Regions from separate parts of the Homo sapiens genome. Here region 1 is linked to region 2. The links are contacts of gene promoters, found by promoter capture Hi-C in blood cells and fetal thymus (Javierre and others, 2016). All regions are on one chromosome and are shown on one strand. Each heading gives the region's core, a stretch centred on a gene start or on the middle of the fragment in contact. The rest is flanking DNA. Distances are from core to core; before and after follow the strand shown. Region 1 overlaps NLRP2 (NLR family pyrin domain containing 2). Region 2 holds the start of KIR2DL3 (killer cell immunoglobulin like receptor, two Ig domains and long cytoplasmic tail 3).

What was found. Contacts are between HindIII fragments. The CHiCAGO score rates a contact against its expected background, and 5 or more counts as called.
Region 1: a contact is called between a fragment that was not itself captured here and the fragment with the promoter of KIR2DL3 in region 2, in 1 of 17 cell types (M1 macrophages). The highest score is 5.1, in M1 macrophages.

What each region holds. Positions count from the first base shown.
Region 1 is chr19:54,994,513-55,000,364 of GRCh38, forward strand. It overlaps NLRP2 (NLR family pyrin domain containing 2), which reads left to right. Exons shown (of 13, transcript NM_017852.5): 12 at 2,805-2,975. Among named protein-coding and RNA genes, the nearest start is that of GP6-AS1, 8.8 kb to the right of the region's middle. The HindIII fragment of the contact is 4,215 bases long and covers 1-4,018 here.
Region 2 is chr19:54,736,875-54,742,712 of GRCh38, forward strand. KIR2DL3 (killer cell immunoglobulin like receptor, two Ig domains and long cytoplasmic tail 3) reads left to right here and starts at 1,639. Exons shown (of 8, transcript NM_015868.3): 1 at 1,639-1,705; 2 at 2,633-2,668; 3 at 5,106-5,405. The coding sequence starts at 1,672. The HindIII fragment of the contact is 12,642 bases long and covers 1-5,838 here.

The sequences.
Region 1 (5,852 bases), core at 661-3,160, 260 kb after region 2:
GAAGCCGACTTCCCAAGTTATATAATTGAGAGGACCTTTATAGAGTCGATCGAGCATTTACTAGGATGGTTAAAGGAATAAGTTCTAGTCTATGTCTAAGTTTTTGTTTTTTTTTTTCTTGAAGTTTTGCTCTTGTCACATAGGCTGGAGTGCAGTGGCGTGATCTTGGCTCACTGCAACCTCCGCCTCCCAGGTTCAAGCAATTCTCTTGCTTCAGCTTCCCGAGTAGCTGGGATTACAGGCGCCCGCCACCATGCCCAGCTAATTCTTGTATTTTTAGTAGAGACAGGGTTTCGCCATGTTGAAGGTTCATCTCAAACTCCTGACCTCAGGTGATCCGCCCATCTCGGCCTCCCAAAGTGCTGGGATTACAGGCGTGAGCCACTGCGCCAGGCCCTATGTCTAAGTTCTAGTCTGTGTCATGCAAAGAACACCTGTGAAATTTTAAGGATACAGTGCCTCAAGCCATTCAGCCAAAAGCCACTGCCCAGCACCCCACATTCAGAGAGGTGGGAATTGGGCCAGGCACAGTGGCTCATACCTGTAATCCCAGCACTTCGGGAGGCCGAAGCGGGCGGATCACTTAAGGTCAGGAGCTCAAGACCAGCCTGGCCAACTTGAAACTCCATCTCTACTAAAATATAAAAATTAGCCGAGCATAGTAGTGGGTGCCTCTTTTTTTTTTTTTTTTTTTTTTGAGATAGTTTCACTCTTGTTGCCCAGGCTGTAGTGTAATGGCGCGATCTCAGCTCACTGCAACCTCCACCTCCTGGGTTCAAGTGATTCTCCTGCCTTAGCCTCCCACATAGCTGCAAATAAACAGGCATGTGCCACCATGCCTGGCTAATTTTGTATTTTTAGTATAGACGGGGTTTCTCCATGTTGGTCAGGCTGGTCTCGACCTCCGGACCTCAGGTGAGAGCCACCGTGCCCAGCCAGTAGGTGCCTTTAATCCCAGCTACTTGGGAGGCTGAGGCAGGAGAATCACTTGAACCCTGGAGGCAGAGGTTGCAGTGAGCTGAGATCCTGTCACTACACTCCATCCTGGGCTACAAGAGCAAGACTCCATCTCAGGAAAAAATAAAAAAGAGGTAGGAATTAGATATCGTGCCAGAAAATGCTGGCTCTATCAGCAGGTGAGTGGTCTCAACTTGGCTATCTTACAAATACCTTGTGAGTTAGCTACAATCAGATGCACTTGAACCTGGAATCCTATCTGGGAGGCAATCTTAAAAGAATTTGACTCGGGATGGGCAAGGTGGCTCATGCCTGTAATCCTGGCATTTTGGGAGTCCAAGGCAGGTAGATTGCTTGAGGCCAAGAATTTAAAAACAGCCTGGCCAACACAATGAAGCCCTGTCTCTACTGAAAGTACAAAAATCCGCTGAGCATGGCTGTGTACCTCTGCTCCCAGTTACTCAGGAGGCTGAGGTGGGAGGATCACTTGAGCCTGGGAGGAAGAAGTTACAGCGAATTGAGATCACGTCACCTCACTCCAGCCTGGGTGACAGTGAGATCCTGTCTCAAAAAAAAAAAAAAAACAAAAAAAACAAAGGCGCCTTTTTAATCACTCACTGACACGTGTAGAGGAGCAAAAAGTTTGAGTTGCTGGTTGGCCCAGGAGGTCAAGGCTGCAGTGAGCCAAGATGGCGTTACCACACTCCAGCCTGGGCAACCGAGTGAGACCGTGTTTCAAAAAATAAAGTGGCAGGGTGCAGTGGCTCATGCCTGTAATTCCAGCACTTTGGGAGGCCGAGGCAGGTGGATCACCTAAGGTCAGGAGTTCGTAGACCAGCCTGTCTCTACTAAAGAGACAGGTGAAACCCTGTCTCTCTAAAACCACAAAAATCAGGCAGGCATGGTGGCACATAGCTATAATCTCATCTACTTGGAGGCACGAGAACTGCTTGAATCCAGGAGGCAGAGGCTACAGTGAGCCGAGATCATGCCACAGCACTCCAGCCCTGGCGAGAGAGCAAGACTGTCTCAAAGAATAACTTCAAAGATGGAAGTTATTTAACCTCTCTGCTCAAAAGCCTCAGTGCTTCCCTATGTCAATCCAGGTAAAATCCTATATTGACGATGGCTTCAGGGTCTTCTGTGAGCTGGCCACTGCTTACCTATGACCTCATCTTGACAATCCTCCCTGTCTCACTCATGCCCGCTGCCTGGATGTTCTATTTTACGTGTCAGTCACATGTATCTTCAGGGCCTCTGCACAAGCTATTTCTCTGCCTGGAGAACTCCCCCCCGAGCTCTATGACTCGGTCTCTTCACCCCCTCACCTCCAACCATTGTAGCCAGAACCCCCAGTTATTCCCTGTACCCCTTGCCCTTCAGAACCCCTCATCGCCTCCATATTTTCCTGTTAGCAGATGAGCCCTGAGGGCGGAGACGTTTTGTTTGTTTTTTGAGACCGGAGTCTCACTCTGTCACCCAGGCTGGAGTGCAATGGCGCGATCTCGGCTCACTGCAACCTCCGCCTCCTGGGTTCAAGCGATTCTCCTGCCCCAGCCTCCTGAGTAGCTGGGATTACAGGTGCCTGTCACCACGCCCAGCTAACTTCTGTATATTTAGTAGAGACACGGTTTTACCATGTTAGGTTGGTCTTGAACTCCTTGACCTCAGGTGATCCATCCACCTCGGCCTCCCAAAGTGCTGGGATTACAGGCGTGAACCACCGTGCCCGGCCTGAGACTTCTGTTGGTCATGCAGATCCCCAACACACGAGGGTGGGCTTGGCTTGCCGGAGGGCATCGATCAGCACTGGCTGCATTAACGTGTTGATTTCTGTGTTTCCCCAGGTTGTGGGGATGTTCCATCCCTCCGTTCAGTTGTGAAGACCTCTGCTCTGCCCTCAGCTGCAACCAGAGCCTCGTCACTCTGGACCTGGGTCAGAATCCCTTGGGGTCTAGTGGAGTGAAGATGCTGTTTGAAACCTTGACATGTTCCAGTGGCACCCTCCGGACACTCAGGTATGATCCATTTACTTCCCCATCAGGCTTTCTCCAGAGTGGTAGGTTTAGGGGAAGCATAATGACATGGACCTGCTGTAGGAGACTGATCTGGTAGCTGGATTACAGGTTCCCGCCATCACACCCAGCCAATTTCTGTATTTCACTTGGAGAAACGGGGTTTCACCATGTTGGTCAGGCTGGTCTCAAACTCCTGACCTCAGGTGATCCGCCCGCCTCGGCCTCCCAAAGTGCTGGGATTACAGGCGTGAGCAACCGCACCCGGCCACCTTTTTTTTTTTTTTCCTTTGAGGCAAGAACTCACTATGTTCCCCAGGCTGGAGTCCAGCAGCACAATGATGGCTCGCTGCAGGCTCGCTCCAGCTCCTGGGCTCAAGCAATCCTGCCTCAGTTCCTGAGTAGGTAGGTTTATAAGCATGAACCATTGCACCCAGCCACGGCTGCCGTCTACCTGCTCATGATAGCCATTTGTCACTGGGCTGTGTTTTGTTTGTTGCATTTTGTCAGGGTTTTGGGGTTTTGTTTTGTTTTTTCTTTCTTTTTTTTTTTTTTTTTCTGAGATGGAGTCTCACTCTGTTGCCCAGGCTGGGGTGCAGTGGTTGCTAACTGCAACCTCCACCTCCCAGGTTCCAGCTATTCTCATGCTTCAGCCTCCCAAGTAGCTGGGATTACAGGCATGCACCACCACACCTAGGTAATTTTTGTATTTTTAGTAGAGACAGGGTTTTGCCATGTTGGCCAGGGTGGTCTCAAACTCCTGACCTCCGTGATTTGCCCACCTCAGCATCCCAAAGTGCTGGGATTACAGGCATGAGCCACCGCACCCGGCCTGAGTTGTATTTTGATACCATGGCATCAAAGAACCAAGAAGCCCCTTCCTAGGAATGTGGGAACTTCAGAAATTCTCACAAGCAATATACTCTACTGCTGGCTTAAAATAATCTTTATGTAGAAGAAACATAGATTACTTGTTTATTTAACATGAAACTCAGCCTAAGATACTTTGTAAGTCAAAAGACATATGGACACTAAGGGTTTTTTTAAGCTTTAAGTTTGTTTGTTTGTTTATTTATTATTTATTTTGGAGACAGTTTTACTCTTTTTTTTGGGGTGCATCTTTTTTCTTTTTTTTTTTTTTTTTTCCTTTTTTTTTTTTTTTTTTTTTATTGATCATTCTTGGGTGTTTCTCACAGAGGGGGATTTGGCAGGGTCATAGGACAATAGTGGAGGGAAGGTCAGCAGATAAACAAGTGAACAAAGGTCTCTGGTTTTCCTAGGCAGAGGACCCTGCGGCCTTCCGCAGCGTTTGTGTCCCTGGGTACTTGAGATTAGGGAGTGGTGATGACTCTTAACGAGCGTGCTGCCTTCAGGATCTGTTTAACAAAGCATATCTTGCACCGCCCTTAATCCGTTTAACTCTGAGTGGACACAGCACATGTTTCAGAGAGCACGGGGTTGGGGGTAAGGTCACAGATCAACAGGATCCCAAGGCAGAAGAATTTTTCTTAGTACAGAACAAAATGGGGGGCTGACCCCCCCACCTCCCTCCCGGACAGGGCGGCTGGCCGGTTAGAGGGGCTCCTCACTTCCCATTAGGGGCGGCCGGGCAGAGGCGCCCCTCACCTCCCGGACAGGGCGGCTGGCTGGGCGGGGGGCTGACCCCCCCACCTCCCCGCCCGGCCAGAGTTTTACTCTTGTTGTCCAGCCTGGAGCGCAATGGCGCTATCTCGGCTTACTGCAACCTCCGCCTCCCGGGTTCAAGAGGTTCTCCTCCCTCAGCCTCCCAAGTAGCTGGGACTACAGGCATGTGCCACCACACCTGGCTAATCTTGTATTTTTAATAGAGACAGGGTTTCTCCATATTGGTCAGGCTGGTCTCGAACTCCTGACTTCAGGTGACCCGCCTGCCTCAGCCTCCCAAAGTGCTAAGATTACAGGCGTGAGCCACCATGCCTGGCCTGCATCTCCTCTGTTTAACTGGTACTCCGGGGTCCACTGAGTAGAAGTTGCCAAAGTGGGTGATAGAGCGGGTAAGCAGGTATTAGAGCTATAGCCCAGCTGTACTCAGCAATTCCATTTTCTGTGTATGATAATCAACAAGCATCTCAAACTGCACAATGGCTATATACCATTACAAGGTTAACCTGATGTTATGTTTTTCTCTATCAGATCAACATGGTTGAGAATAAGAGGAATGAAAAAAAGGATTAAAAAGAGAAATGAAAGTCTTTAATATTACATTTTATTATTTACTTCATTTATTTTTTAGACAAAAATCTCACTCTATTGCTCAGGCTGGAGTGCAGGGGCCCGATCTCAGCTCACTGTAACCTCCGCCTCCCAGGTTCAAGTGATTCTCCTGTGTCAGCTTCCTGAGTAGCTGGGATTATAGGGATGCACCATCACACCCAACTAACTTTTATATTTTTAGTAGAGATGGACTTTCACCATCTTGCCTAGGCTGGTCTCAAACTCCTGACCTCAAGTGATCTGCCCACCTCACTCTCCCAAAGTGCTGGCATTACAGGCATGACCCACCACATCTGGCCTCATTTTATATTTAAAAATAAAAAATAAGCAAATCAAGCCAGGTACAGTTTAGGCAACATGGTAAAACCCCAACTCTACTAAAAATACAAAAATTAGCTGAGCATGGTGGCAGGTGCCTGTAGTCCCAGCTACTCGGGAGGCAGAGGATAGGATGGCTTGAACCCAAGAGGCACAGGTTGCAGTGAGCTGAGATGGTACCACTGCACTCCAGCTTGGGCAACAGAGAGACTGTCTTTTTTTTTTTTTTTTTTTTTTTTTTTTTTTTTTTTTTTGAGATCGCCCAGGCTGGAGTACAGTGGCACGATCTCGGCTCACTGCAAGCTCCGC
Region 2 (5,838 bases), core at 389-2,888:
GCTGGCAGAGTCATTCCACGATGAAACATTTGTAGAGTCATAGGCCTTGTTAGTCTCATCTCCACAGGGACACGTATCAACACATCATCTTTCATACTACTATAAATAGACAGTCACTCCTCCATATCTCTGGGGTTTACACATGTTTATTGAATCAGCAATAAATCAAAAATATTTTGAGAAAAAAAATCCCCGAAGTTTCAAAAAGCAAAAAACTATGTTGAATCGACACAAATTGAGTGGCGTGTAGGCTGTGTCAGGAATTATAAGTAATCAAGAGATGATTTCATGTATACAGGAGGATGTGCATGGGTTCTATGCAATTGCTATGCTATTTTTTTTTTTTTTTTGAGACAGTCTCACTCTCTCACCCAGGCTGGAGTGCAGTGGCGTGATCTCAACTCACTGCAACCTCCGCCTTCCAGGTTCAAGCGATTCTCTTCCCTCAGCCTCCCCAGTAGCCTCCCCTAGGATTACAGGCACGTGCCACCATGCACAGATAAATTTTTTTGTGTGTATATTTTTAGTAGAGATGGGGTTTCAGAATGTTGGACCAGCTGGTCTTGAACTCCTGACCTTGTGATCTACCCAGCTCAGCCTCCCAAAGTGCTGGGATTACAGGCGTGAGCCACGGTGCCCAGCTTCACTATGCCATTTCATGCAAGGGGCTTGAGCATCTGCAGATTTTGGTATCTGAATGGGGATCCTGGAACCAATCACCCAGGTATAGTGAAGGACCATGGTATATAATTTTTATTTGTCAATCTTAAAAATAAAGCATAAAAAATTTACAACAACAAGATAAAAAATAAGAAGTGTTTTTATAGTGTGAGGATAAGTTTAGATTTATTTTTTCCTACGTGTAACCCTATGGTCCTGTGTTATTTGTTGAGAAAATATTCTATTCCACCTTAAACTACATGGCAGCCTTTGTCAACTATAAAGGGACTGTGTATCCACAGATGTATTTTAGACACAGTTTTCTGTCCAGTGGTTCTCTGTATCCCCTCTCATGAGGATGCTGCATTTTATATAAACTTATAGAACCCCTTAAAATTTGGTAACCTGAGTCCTCTGATTTGTTATTATAGGTTATTTAGTTTGCTTTTTTTTTTTTTCTTGAGACAGACTCTTCCTCTGTCACCCAAGCTGGAGTTCAGTGGCTTGAGCTCAGCTCACTGCAACCTCCGTCTCCCAGGTTCAAGCTATTCTGATGCCTCTGGTTTAGTAGTAGAAACTCAAGCAGGAAAATTAGAATGGCTTCTTGTCACAATTACTCTGATAATGTTAATAATACCTGTTAGACATTTTGCACATTACATATGAAGAAGAGTTTGAATCTCAGATAAAAACAAAAATACATCAAAAATCTTTAATGTAAGCACAGAATTCAATCATCTCGTGTATGAGAGGTTGGATCTGAGACGTCTTTTGAGTCTGGTCGTAGTGAAGGACGCAAGGTGTCAATTCTAGTGAGAACAATTTCCAGGAAGCCATGTTCCGCTCTTGAGCGAGCACCCACTGGGCCTCATGCAAGGTAGAAAGAGCCTGCGTACGTCACCCTCCCATGATGTGGTCAACATGTAAACTGCATGGGCAGGGCGCCAAATAACATCCTGTGCGCTGCTGAGCTGAGCTGGGGCGCGGCCGCCTGTCTGCACAGACAGCACCATGTCGCTCATGGTCGTCAGCATGGTGTGTGTTGGTGAGTCCTGGAAGGGCATCGAGGGAGGGAGTGCGGGGATGGAGATCGGGGCCCAGAGTTGGAGATATAGGCCTGGAAGTGGAGTTATGGGCCTAGAGATGGAGTGATGGGCCTAGAAGTGGAGATCTGGGCCTGGAGTGGAGATCTGGGCCTGGAGTGGAGATATGGGCCTGGAGGTTGAGATATGGGCCTGCAGTAGAGATATGGGCTTGTAGTGGAGACATGGGCCTGGAGATGGAGATATGGGCCTGGAGATGGAGATATGGGCCTGCAGTAGAGATAGGGGCCTGGAGTGGAGATATGGGCCTGGAGTGGAGATATGGGCCTGGAGTGGAGATATGGGCCTGGAGGTGGAGATATGGGCCTGGAGGTGGAGATATGGGCCTGGAGTGGAGATATGGGTCTGGAGGTGGAGATACGGGCCTGCAGTAGAGATATGGGCCTGGAGTGGAGATATGGGCCAGGAGTGGAGTTATGGGCCTAGAGGTGGATATCTGGGCCTGGAGTGGAGATATGGGCCTAGGAAGGAGATATGGGCCTGGGTGTGGAGATATGGGACTGGAGAGGTGATATGGGCCTGGAGTGGAGATATGGGCTTAGGGTGGAGATCTGGGCCTGGGGCGGAGATATGGGACTGGATTGGAGATAGGGGCCTAGGGTGGAGATCTGAGCCTGGATTGGCGATATGGGCCTAGGGTGGAAATATCAGCCTGGAGTGGAGATATGGGCTTGGGGTGGGGATATGGGCCTGGAAACTGGGTCTCTGCACAGCCGACAGCCCTGTTCTTGGGTGCAGGTAGGCACTGAGGGTGAGTTTAACTTCAGCCCAGGAAGGGCCTGGCTGCCAAGACTCACAGCCCAGTGGGGGCAGCAAGGGAGGCCTGGTTTGCCTGCAGATGGATGGTCCATCATGATCTTTCTTTCCAGGGTTCTTCTTGCTGCAGGGGGCCTGGCCACATGAGGGTGAGTCCTTCTCCAAACCTTCGGGTGTCATCTCCCCACATAAGAGGATTTTCCTGAAACAGGAGGGAAGTCCTGTCGGGGAGTCTCTCATAAACTAGGAAGAGAGGACCCTGGGGTGCTCAGCCCACATTTCTGACCTCGCCTCCCTGGCCTCTCAACCCCTTGGCAGAGTCAAGTTCTGTGGGGACCAGGGTTAGACTGGGGTGCTCAAAGCTGGGGTGTGTGGTTGGGAAGTGGTAGGAACAGCAGATCCTCTGAGGACAAAGGTGTTACTCACACACTTCAGCGTTTCCATGATGGTAGGGGCTGCAGTGTGGCTGCTGTCATTCTACCAGAAGAGGTGGGAAACCACAGCCATGGCCCTGACATTCCAAATCCTCTGATGGGGGCTCAGTTGTTTATTTTCGTTCAGGCATCCGCTGATATCCATTCACAAAGGACATGCCCTCCACCTCATGTCTACCCTGTGTTGTTTTATGTGAGTAATCTTACAGTATTAAAATCTAGTAGGAGTCTCTTTACTCAGCACTTGCTCAAAGTTCTCAGCTGAGGCTTTTGTTGTAGGGAGACACCATGTCTTTGCGGGATGGGTCCTTCCTTCAGCCCTGGGCACCAAGGTGTGATAGTAGCCATAGAAACGTGGAAAGCGAGGAGAATCTTCTGAGCACAGGGAGGGAAGGGCAGTTCCACATCCTCCTCTCTAAGGCGGCGCCTCCTTCTCCCCAAGGTGGTCAGGACAAGCCCTTGCTGTCTGCCTGGCCCAGCCTTGTGGTGCCTCTAGGACATGTCATTCTTCGGTGTCACTCTTATCTTGGGTTTAACAACTTCAGTCTGTAAAAGGAAGGTGGGGTGCCTGTCCCTGAGCTCTACAACAGAATATTCTGGAACAGCCTTTTCATGGGCCCTGTGACCCCCGCACACACAGGGACATACAGATGTCGGGGTTCACACACACACTCCCCCAGTGGGTGGTCAGCACCCAGCAACCCCCTGGTGATCGTGGTCATAGGTCAGAGGGCTCCTGTCTTGGATTCTCCTTGTCCCACCTCCTGAATCCCAGAGCTTCTGTTGGGCATGTCCTTGAGGGTCCCATCACGCAGGCCCTGACTGTATTTGTGGTAAAGGGGGATTGAATACAGGGAAATGGGTGCTGTGGTGGGAAGAATAATTGTCCCCAGTGATGACTACATTCTAATCCCTGGAGTCTGTGACTATTTATGTTATAGGGGAAGGGACTGAAGGGGAAGATGGAGCTCATGGGGAGACAGCCTGGACTGTCCCACTGGGCTCAGTGTAATCACAAGGGTGCACATGAAAGGAGGAGGAAGAGGGGAGTGGGGATTAGAGCAGTCCAGTGGAAGTCTTCACCAGCTTTGAAGGTGGAGGAAGGCCAAGATCCATGAATGCAGGTGGCCTATAGAGGCTGGAAAAGTCAAGGAACTGATTCTCCAGAGTCTCCAGAGGGAACAAAGCCCTGCAGATGCCTTGATTTTAGCCCAGGAAAAATAGGGTCCAATTTCTGTCTCCAGTACTGGAAGGTGTCAGTGTGGTCTCTCCTGCTGCCATGCTTCTGATAATTTTCTACAGCAGCAACAGGAAACCAACACTGGAACCCAGGTCAAGGACAAGTTAAGAAACAACCCAAGGAAAGCCAGGCATGGTGGCAGGTGCATGTAATCCTAGCGACTCAGGAGGCTGAGGGCAGGAGAATCACTTGAACCCAGGAGACAGAGGTTGCAGTGAGCCTAGACCACACCACTTCACTCCAGCCTGGGTGAAGGAGTGAGACTCTGTCTCCATAATTAATTAATTAATTAAAGAAACCAAACAAGGAGAAGGTTGGCTACCCTGAGATCAGCAAGGGTGGGATGATGATGCCACCACCAGGCTCCATCCACATAGGGAGGGGTTGATACTCCTCCAACCAGCACCAGGAGCCAGCCTATGGAAGCTGGCACCATGGAGAAGGCACAGGCATGGCAAGAGTGGCTCCCAGTCCCCACCAGGAACAGGGTGTGTGGACACTGGTGCCTGCCTTATTCATCAGTTCATACCTTCTGCCAAGGATTGCAATTCATCCAAAAGAGATTGAACCAGGCTGATAAGAGCCTGGATGTGCAGCCTATCCTGGTTCCTCTTTCACCCCCACATAAACAGCAGGAAATACATTAGTGTGAAATAGATACAACACCCCAAGAGATGAGGCTCAGCCCAGTGGGAAGGGAATCAGAGGCTACTAGAGACAGAGGGACAGAGAAGAGGGAGGGAGACAGATGGAAGGACCTGCACCAGGAGTTAAGGGCACAGAAAAGAACATGAAGACACAGAGAGGAAGGAGAGAGACAGACACCAGCAAGGGGAAGCCTCACTCATTCTAGGTGCCATGGATGGGATGATAAAGAGAGACACCTTCTAAACTCACAACCTCTCTTCCTAGGAGTCCACAGAAAACCTTCCCTCCTGGCCCACCCAGGTCCCCTGGTGAAATCAGAAGAGACAGTCATCCTGCAATGTTGGTCAGATGTCAGGTTTCAGCACTTCCTTCTGCACAGAGAAGGGAAGTTTAAGGACACTTTGCACCTCATTGGAGAGCACCATGATGGGGTCTCCAAGGCCAACTTCTCCATCGGTCCCATGATGCAAGACCTTGCAGGGACCTACAGATGCTACGGTTCTGTTACTCACTCCCCCTATCAGTTGTCAGCTCCCAGTGACCCTCTGGACATCGTCATCACAGGTGAGAGTGTCCGGACATTCTCATTGTCATTGGGATGCAGAGTGAATGATCCACGACTTGGAACCCCCAGGTAGTTGTAAGGAAGATGAGCTTGGTATTCTTATGGAGAGAGACTGACTTGCTGAGGTTTGTACCAACAGAGACAGAGAAACAGGAGACACAAGTACAGACCAGGTGTCATAACAGAGGACAGACACAGGGGCCATACAGGGAGTTAGAAAAGACAGAAAGAGTTAAAAGAGACAGACAGACAGACATGTCCCAGAGAGAGGTGTCCCTCCATGCTGACTTTGCTCACAGACCTGGCACAGGTTAGAAGTTTCATTTCTGTTTTACCTCCACAAAGTGTTCTCTACCAGGAGAACCCAAGGACACCCATATTTATGACCTGAGTTGGGCCCTGTGGCCTCAGGCCTTGTGGCACCTACAGGCC